Linked DNA regions of Homo sapiens: region 2 is linked to region 1. Evidence: promoter capture Hi-C in human tissues and cell types (Jung and others, 2019). All regions are on one chromosome and are shown on one strand. The core of a region is centred on a gene start or on the middle of the fragment in contact, and the rest is flanking DNA. Distances in the headings are between cores, read along the strand shown.

Region 1 (4,099 bases), core at 863-3,362:
GTGTCCATCTCCAAGTCTAAGTTTTGCTTCCCCACAATTAGCTGTGTTAATTACCCAAAGAAGATTAGATGTACCAGGGAGAATGGCATACTGGAGAGAGAAAAAGTAAGAAGCCATTCTTGCATCTTATTTTAGCCACTGATTAGGTATCTGAAGTTGCATCTTCCCAAAAAATCTTCCATACCAAAGAGTGGAAAAAACTTTTGTTTCGCCAACTACGCATAATGAAGAAACCGTTTAACATTTTAGGCAGCAGCTGGAACTTGACAGTCACCTTTTGTCTTCACATTACAGATAGAGAAACCTTCTGCAATGGCAAAAAGAAAAGTTATTTGATGATTGCAATTCAGGGGAAAAACTCAATTTGATTTAGAGAAACATAAAATGATTGTTTTTAATAAAGAACAGGGACCACTTGTTTCTAGTCAATATGTCTGAGAAATGTCTTACAAATAGACTCAGTGTCACAAATAGATGATTTACAAATAGACTCAGACCCACTGTAGCGTTAAGGATGGAACCTGGATTATGCATTCAGTGCGGGCATCAATTTTGACACTCAGAGACCAGGTGAAGGTGTCCAAGAGACGAAAGCTCAGCTCTCTCATCACTCAGGTGAAGGAGAAAGGGGACCAGTGGTTCCAGCACGTGTTCCGCAGGCCGGCAGCATCAGCATCACCTGGAACTTTTTAGGAACGGAGATCGGAAGTCCCACCTTGACCTGCCGAGATAGCTCTGGGGTGGGCCCAGCAACCCAGGTCTAACAAATTTTCCAGTGACTCTCCTGCTGGTTCAAACTTCAGAAACAGTGAAAGAGACAATCTCTTAGGGTCTTTGCAGCGTCGACTCTTAGGAATTTTACAGGAGAGCAATACAAAGAGAAAAGGCAACAAGTTTAAGAAACAAACAAAAGAAAAAACAGAAAGACAGATATATTCAGATAAGTAGATACAGAATAAAAGACAAGAGCACATCTCAAAGGACATGAACCCAGAAAAACAATCTTCGGTAGAACAGCAGTGGCTTTTTTGATCTTCCTTGAAACTTTGAAAGCTAAAAACTCTTAAAGCATTGGTATATTTCTGCAACTACAGGCATACAGGATAAAAAAGTCCATTGCCCCCTCAGTCAGATGATAACGACCCATTTTTATCTACTGAGGTGAATTCACCTCATTAGATTCAGGGCTTGTTGGTTTACAATATTCCTTAAAAATTCTGAATGCTTTTCTTCCCTCTGAGCTTTGATGGGGTTAATTTAAAGGCTCTCGTGGAGCAAAGCAGTTCTTGGGCTACAAATTACAGGACGGTGCTTAGGGATCTTGGTGTGGGAATGTCTTAGTTGGAGATTCCGGGCGGTGTTGAGAATCATGTCTTTTATCTTCTCAAAGCAATGTTGTCTCCTAATGGATCCATTTCCTTTCCCAGTGAGCCCTGGGGAGCACACGACATGTTTCTAGGGACACTAACTTGGGGGATCGCTCTGGGAAGGGGCTTGGGGCCAGCATGACCTCAGTGTGGCGTGTCAGAGACTTCCTCACTGCGATCCCTGGGAGATGCGCAGGGCGGGGCGAGGGCCCTTCTCCAGCCATCCTTGCGCTCTCCCTGGCGAAGAGCCTCAGGTGCCCCCGGGCTGGAGGACCTCCCCTGGGCCTGAGGTTTTGATGACGACGAGAGGCCGGTGGCCAGCTGGACACCTGTTGGGAGAGTGGGTGGCTCCGTCCCCGGGGTGCGCCCGCGCTGGGAGCCCTCGCCCGCCGCCACCGCGCGTCCGCGCTCGCAGGGAGGGTGGCCGGGAGGCTGGGCGTGGGGCGGCCAGGGGGAGGTGGGATTTACTTTGCGGATTGGGGCTCACAGCTGTCACTCCGAAAGGGTGGGGCTTTTTAAAAGCAGACAAATTTTTAAGGCGAAAGCCCCAGCCGGCTCCGGGCACCGTGGCGATCGCCTCCGTTCCGTTCCGGATGCGGTCCTTGCGGAGCGGAGCCCCCGCGCCTGCTGGCAGGAGGCAGCTGCGTTGCTCGGCCGCGTCCCCGAGCCGGCGGGCCCTCCTCCGCGCACATCTGGCCCGCCTCCCCCGGGCGCAGGGGGGAGCCCCGCGTCTCCGGAGCCTGCAGTGCGCTCGGCGCGCGTAGAGCCCCGCGAGCCCCAGCCGGGCCCGGGGCCGGGCGGGCCGAGGCGGCGGCCGGGGAGCAGCCGCACCCGCCAAACTTTGGGTGCCGGAGCGCGCGCGCGCCCGAGCCCCGAGGCGCAGCGGCCGGCCTGGGATGGGGGCTGCGGGCCAGGGAGCCCCGGGCCGCCCAGCGAGCCCGGCCACCCGCCCGGGGGGCTCCGAGCCGCCTCTGCCCGCGTCCCGGGCTCCGCAGCCCCGCCACCCCGGCGCCGCCTGCGCCAGCGCCCGCTAGCCAGCCCGGGAGCAGCTGGAGCCGCCGGAGCCCTGCGCCTGGAGGCGCCCCTCCTTGGGCCACCGGGGGCCACTCTTCGCTCGGGTAAACAGGAAAGGAAATACCCCCTGTGGATTAAAATTTAAAAAAAATTCTGTTGGGGTCGAAGGAGGGAGGTGGGGTTTGCCTGCGCGCGTGTTGGACTCCGGAGAGCAACTCAGGAGCCCGCGCGGTCGTCGCCTCCCGGCCTGGCCATGGACTGGCGGGAAGAGGGAGCAGGGCGCCCGGGCTGCTCGGGCCCCTAGCCGGGCGCTCCCTCGCCACCGGCCCCGCTGCGGGCCTCTAGGGGACTGAGACGGTCTCTTGTTCGCCTGGACGGCGCCGGGGAGCGGAGGATCTGCGCTCCGGGTCTCCAGGATGTGCCCGTCTGAGATGGGGACGCTGTGGCACCACTGGTCGCCGGTACTCATCAGCCTGGCCGCCCTGTTTTCCAAAGGTGAGGACGCCGCGGCCGCCAGGGCCCGGGGACTAACTTCGCCTGGAGTGAGTGTGTGGGAGTGTGTGGAGGATGGGGGCGGCCGGGAGAGAGGGCTCGTGTGCAAGTGTGTGTGCGCGCTTGTGTGCATGTGTGTGTGCGCGCGTGTGAACGTGCGCTCGTGCGGCAGCCAAGCTCCTCGGACGCCCCTTGGCCGAAGGTGCTTGTCCTGGAGCACTTGGGTGGGAGGCCTTAGGTGAGACTACTAAGGAGCCGAAAGGAAAGGAAGGCTGTTTCCTGAAAGCCTTTTCTGTAAAGGGAGAGGGCGTGGGGACCCTTGAGAGGAAAGGTGGCCTCTGGAGGGCCGAGCCGGCTGTCGGGGGAGGAGGGGATTGAGATGACCAGGGAGATTTCTGGAATTTGGGATTGACTTTCCCTGGTGGCACTGACCTATTTGGAAATAATTTTGGAGCACTCCTGTTGTATGGGAATACTATTTTGTGTATTATAGGCTGCCAAAAATATAGCCTGGGGGGCGGCTCTGAAGAAGGGGGATGGGTTTCTCCAGGTCTGCCGCTGTGAGGTTTGGGCACAGGGTCTGGCGCTCACCCTTCCGTAGGGTGCTGGGAGCAGCAGCGGCCCCGCAGGGTGCACGTGGAGTTTCAGCTACAAGTTGTGACCCGAATTTTCCCAGCGGAGCCCTGACTTGAAGCCATGTGTCAAGGCAGGAATTCCTCAATGTTTCCTCTTCTCTTCTGCCAGCATCCCTGTCTGTCATGGGAAGAGCAAGTTTGGAAGCTCTGGACAGTCATTCTTCCTTGAAGAGAAATGGTGTGATTTGTGCGGGAGATTCTTTCTCATGATTGACCTGGGCTGCTTGTGTGTGGTTCCCCCACCCGTGCCCCTTTCCTGCAGATAGATACACTGGGAGGAGAGTGAAGCGTCTCAGCAGTCTCTAATACGTGCTGCAAGAACCCTGTACCCATATTTTTCTGCAAAGATTTTTGAGATGAGATCTCTCTCAGAAACTTCAAAGCCAATTATCACGCACAAAGTCTTTTAATTACATGAATTGTCTGTTCTCTGAGTTCTTCCAGAATCACTGAGGTTATGTTGCTTTGGATCTGATAATAGATGAAGACAGTTGAAATGCCGAGTTCTGTGATGGTTCGATTTAGAAAGAGGAATTTACGTTCCCCCTCCTTCCCTGTCTTTGAAGTGTGGTTGAAATGGGCTCACGTTTC
Region 2 (4,099 bases), core at 532-3,031, 70 kb after region 1:
CCACTGCACTTCAGCCTGGGTGACAAAGTAAGATCCTATCTCAAAACAAAAACAAAGACGAACCCCTCAAAACCCCAAAACCTCATGGACAGAAAATTGAGTTAACCTAACAGTTTGAGGACAGACTGTCATTAACCCCAGCAAAGCCCTTTCCTTGCTGTATTTTCTACTTTTCTTGCATCTCCTTGCACTAGGGCTGTTTCTCATCTCCCATGGGTGCCGATCCTAATGCCTTTGCTATTGAGCCTCAAATATCCCGTGTCTTTGTAAAATAAAGACAGATGGCCATGTGGGCATGTGTCCTAGTGCATACGGCTGATGTTACACTCTATCCTGGCTTCCTTTTTTACCTGCTTCATTCAGTAAGCATGTGTTTCCTAAGATCTGGGCACGTTGCTGTTTGTTCCTCTCCCTTCTGTTCAATTCTCCATAGTATCCATTTACCATCTTTATCAGTTCTTGTTCAGATACCAAAAAGCTCATAGGTTCCATCCACCATGCCCCAAGTTCCTGATGAATAAAACGGCCCAATGTGCAGCCTGTGGGGAATAGAGCATGTGGTTTCCACTTCAAAATGGTGAGATTCAGATGATTTTAAGACGCTGTGCTGGCCTGAGCCCTCTGTGGACGGGGTTCCATTTGTGGGTCTGCACTGTGAGCCCTGCCGCCTGATGCCTTCATCACAGGAATCGTGCTCATCCTGAAACCGACTCAGGTCCTGCTGCTCACTGCCCAGGGACCAGAACAGAAGCGAGGAGTGGTGGAAGGAAAGCGGCTTTATTCCAGTGCTAGCAGCTGGTGCATGGTCAGGCTCATGTCCTCAAAAGACCATTCATCTTTCAGGGCTGAGAGAGGGGGTTTAGGAAGGAAAACTGTATGGGAGATATGCAGGAGTGGTATGGGAGGGAGGGGGCGGGGTGTAGGTCCATGTGCCCTGTTCCAATGGCTATCTTGAGAAATTGCCTGTCCTGAGGTTTGGTTGCCATTATCTTGATGCTGGCCCGATGGTGGTGGTGGACTAATTGTCCATAACTCCATTTAAGCAGCAGCTGGGTCTCGGGACTGGTTTGTTTCAAAACAAGCCCCTAGAATTTCTAAGTAAGTGCATACTTGGAGGAGGGAGAATAGCACATCCGAGTGCCTGGTGGAAAGGAGGGAAGTGAAGTCTTAAAGTGTATTTCCAGGCTACATTCTGAGATGAAGAAGGAAGGGAAAGGAAAAACTGTAAAATGTGTTTCAAGTCTGGGCCACTCGGTTACAATCCCTTATGGAGCAGATGGGCCTCAGTCCTTGAACAGTGATCCGAAAGTTCCTGGGGAGGAAGAACAGAGATGACACCCCCTCAGTGATTCCCCCAACCAGGCTGGGTGTCAGAATCTTGTGGAGAGCACATTTGAAAGTGAGGAATCCTGGGTACTGCTCATATGCGACATGCTTGAATTAAAAAAAAAATAGTTTTAGGCATGTAGGCATTAGGAACAACAGCCGAGATCCCCAGACCTAGTTATGCTATTTGCTTGAGAGGAGTTTCCTGTAGACTGACACCGACTTGTTAAATGCCTTGCCCATGGGCAGAGGAGTGGAAGCTAGAGCTGAAATTGGGGACGGTGCCTGTGGCAATGGGCTGTGAATTTCACATGGGTACAGCTTTATTCTTAGAAAAACACAAATTCACATTAAAAACAGGAATGAAATGAAACAAATATTCTGAGTTTTTTGTTTTTTTGAGATAGGGTCTTGCTCTGTTGCCCAGGCTGGAGAACAGTGGCGTGATCACAGCTCACAGCAGCCTCGAACTCCTGGGCTCAAGCGATCCTCCCACCTCCTCCTCCCAAGTAGCTGGGACTACAGGTGCACACCACCACAGCTGGCTGTTTTTTGTTTTTGTTTTTGTTTTTGTTTTTCATTTTTTTGTAGGGATGGGGTTTCACCACATGGCCCAGGCTGGTCTCAAACTCCTAGGCTCACATGATCCGCCCACCTCAGCCTCCCAAAGTGCTGGGATTACAGGCATGAACCACCATACCCAGCCCAGAAATATTCTTTAATGGTGTAGGAAGGAATTACAAGGGCAGAAAGGGAACAAGGTTTGCCTTTGTGTGTGTCCGACTGTAGCTTACTTGAGGCCTGCATTAAAAACAATTCAGTTGCATGGGTCACACATCAATGCGAGGACAATTTATCTGGAAAAATATCTACGGGGTCTATGAAAGCCAAGTAGAGTTGTGTGTGGAGCACACACTAAACCACAGAACAGCCTGCACTCAGGCACGAGCATCTTCAAGGTCAAAGTCTGGACATCGGCCAGAGGCATTTGTAATTTGCGAGAGGCATCAGTGTGAAGAACCCGTAGGTCAAGGTTGACTTTCTGAGAGTGACCAGCTAAGGTAGGGAGTAGAGGGGGATTGCGAGAAAGAGTTAAATGAGTTTGCTAGTTCTTAGCAAGGTGGAACTTGGATTGAAGGGGTTGAAACTGAATTCAAAACAAGCTCTCTGACAGGTGAAAGTGGGATTATTGGAGACGGTGCCTTTGAAGGACTCCCCCAGGATTCAGAAAAGTGACGGCTCCATAAAGAAAGCCTTCCTCTCAGATCATGGCCGGGTTTGTGGCAACAGTGACGGGCGGAATGGAACAAATGCCTGCAGCGTCCCCTGACTATCTCTGAGCCTGCGCACCTCAGCCCTTCACCTGCCGGGCAGAGGCCTGGGAGGAGGCAGAGGTGGCCATGCTGGGATGGACCTAGTGCTGCAGAAGCCACAAAAATACTCAGATATGCATCATCTTGTTTGATGCTCCCAGTGGACCTATGGGGGAAGCTGCGAGGATGTCATCTCCCCATTTCATAAACAAACAGGCTCCATGGTTTAGTGCAGGGTCTGCAAGCTTTTTTGTAAAGAGCTACGTAGTAAATATATGTCCTATTCGATATGTTATATACCATGTTATAGAATATAATATATAATATTTATGATATATCCTTTTACAAAAATATTTTATGTATATATATAATTTGTAAAACACATGTGGCCTCTGTTACATCTTCTCTTCCTCCTCTTCCTTTTCATTCTTTCCCTCCCCCTTTTTCCTCTCCTTCTTTTCTTTCCGTTATTCTATATCTCTTCCTCCTGTTCCTTCTTCCAACCCTTTAAAAATGCTACAAAACGGCCAGGTGCAGTGGCTGACACCTGTAATCCCAGCTCTTTGGGAGGCTGAGACGGGCGGATCACGAGGTCCGGAGATTGAGACCAGCCTGGCCAACATGGTGAAACCTCGTCTCTACTAAAATACAAAAAAAAAAAAAAAAAAAAAAAAAAGAGCCGGGCATGGTGGCAGGTGCCTGTCGTCCCAGCTACTCGGGAGGCTGAGGCAGGGGGATCTCTGGAACCCGGGAGGTGGAGATTGCAGTGAGCTGAGATCGTGCTACTGCACTCCAGCCTGCCAACAGAGCAAGACTCAGTCTCAAAAAAAAAAAAGAAAAAGAAAGAAAGAAAAAGAAAAGAAAAAAAAATGCTTCAACGTGTGCTTATTTGGAGGTCATGCACAAACAGCCTGGGGGTTGTTGGGAGGCTGGAAGATGCGCACCCTGGGTTTAATGGCTTGCTCAGTTTTTCTGCTGGTCAGTAGAAGAGCTGAGAGCTGGTGAGGTCTGTCGGCTCTGAATCCAGCTCTGTTTCCTACTGAAACTAGAAGCAGGAGGCTAATCATTGTTATAACTGCGTATTCATTCCTTAGAATACAGAATAATAGAGAAAACCGCTAGGTCATGGTCTAAAGCATTCACGTGTGTCGTCTCGTTTGGAATCCACCCTGTTTTATTTTTCACGGCTGAGCCAGCCGAGGCACCGGCCGCATAATCCCCATCCGGGATCAGAAGCTGTCGGGCCTCAGAGCGCCTCTCAAACCCACACTCACTTGGCATCAAAGACCACAGTCTCTCTATATAAAATATCATTGCGCCTTGTGATGGAAGCAGACACACGCAATCGCATTTGCGTATTCAGTGGTGTGCATGTGTGGGAGGGACAATGGCTGTCTACCCTGACTCCAGCCTTGAAAGGGTCATCTGTCAGTGCCCATGTCAGCGTCTGTTCTCTCTTC

The links. Contacts are between HindIII fragments. The study calls those that stand out against the background at their distance.
Region 2: a fragment that was not itself captured here is called in contact with the fragment with the promoter of TMEM132D in region 1 in 2 of the 25 tissues and cell types used here (H1 embryonic stem cells and dorsolateral prefrontal cortex).

The regions. Positions count from the first base shown.
Region 1 is chr12:129,902,038-129,906,136 of GRCh38, reverse strand. It overlaps TMEM132D (transmembrane protein 132D), which reads left to right and starts at 2,112. Exons shown (of 9, transcript NM_133448.3): 1 at 2,112-2,876. The coding sequence starts at 2,798. The HindIII fragment of the contact is 10,076 bases long and covers 1-4,099 here.
Region 2 is chr12:129,831,252-129,835,350 of GRCh38, reverse strand. The region is part of intron 1 of TMEM132D (transmembrane protein 132D); the gene reads left to right. Among named protein-coding and RNA genes, the nearest start is that of TMEM132D, 71 kb to the left of the region's middle. The HindIII fragment of the contact is 4,178 bases long and covers 1-3,870 here.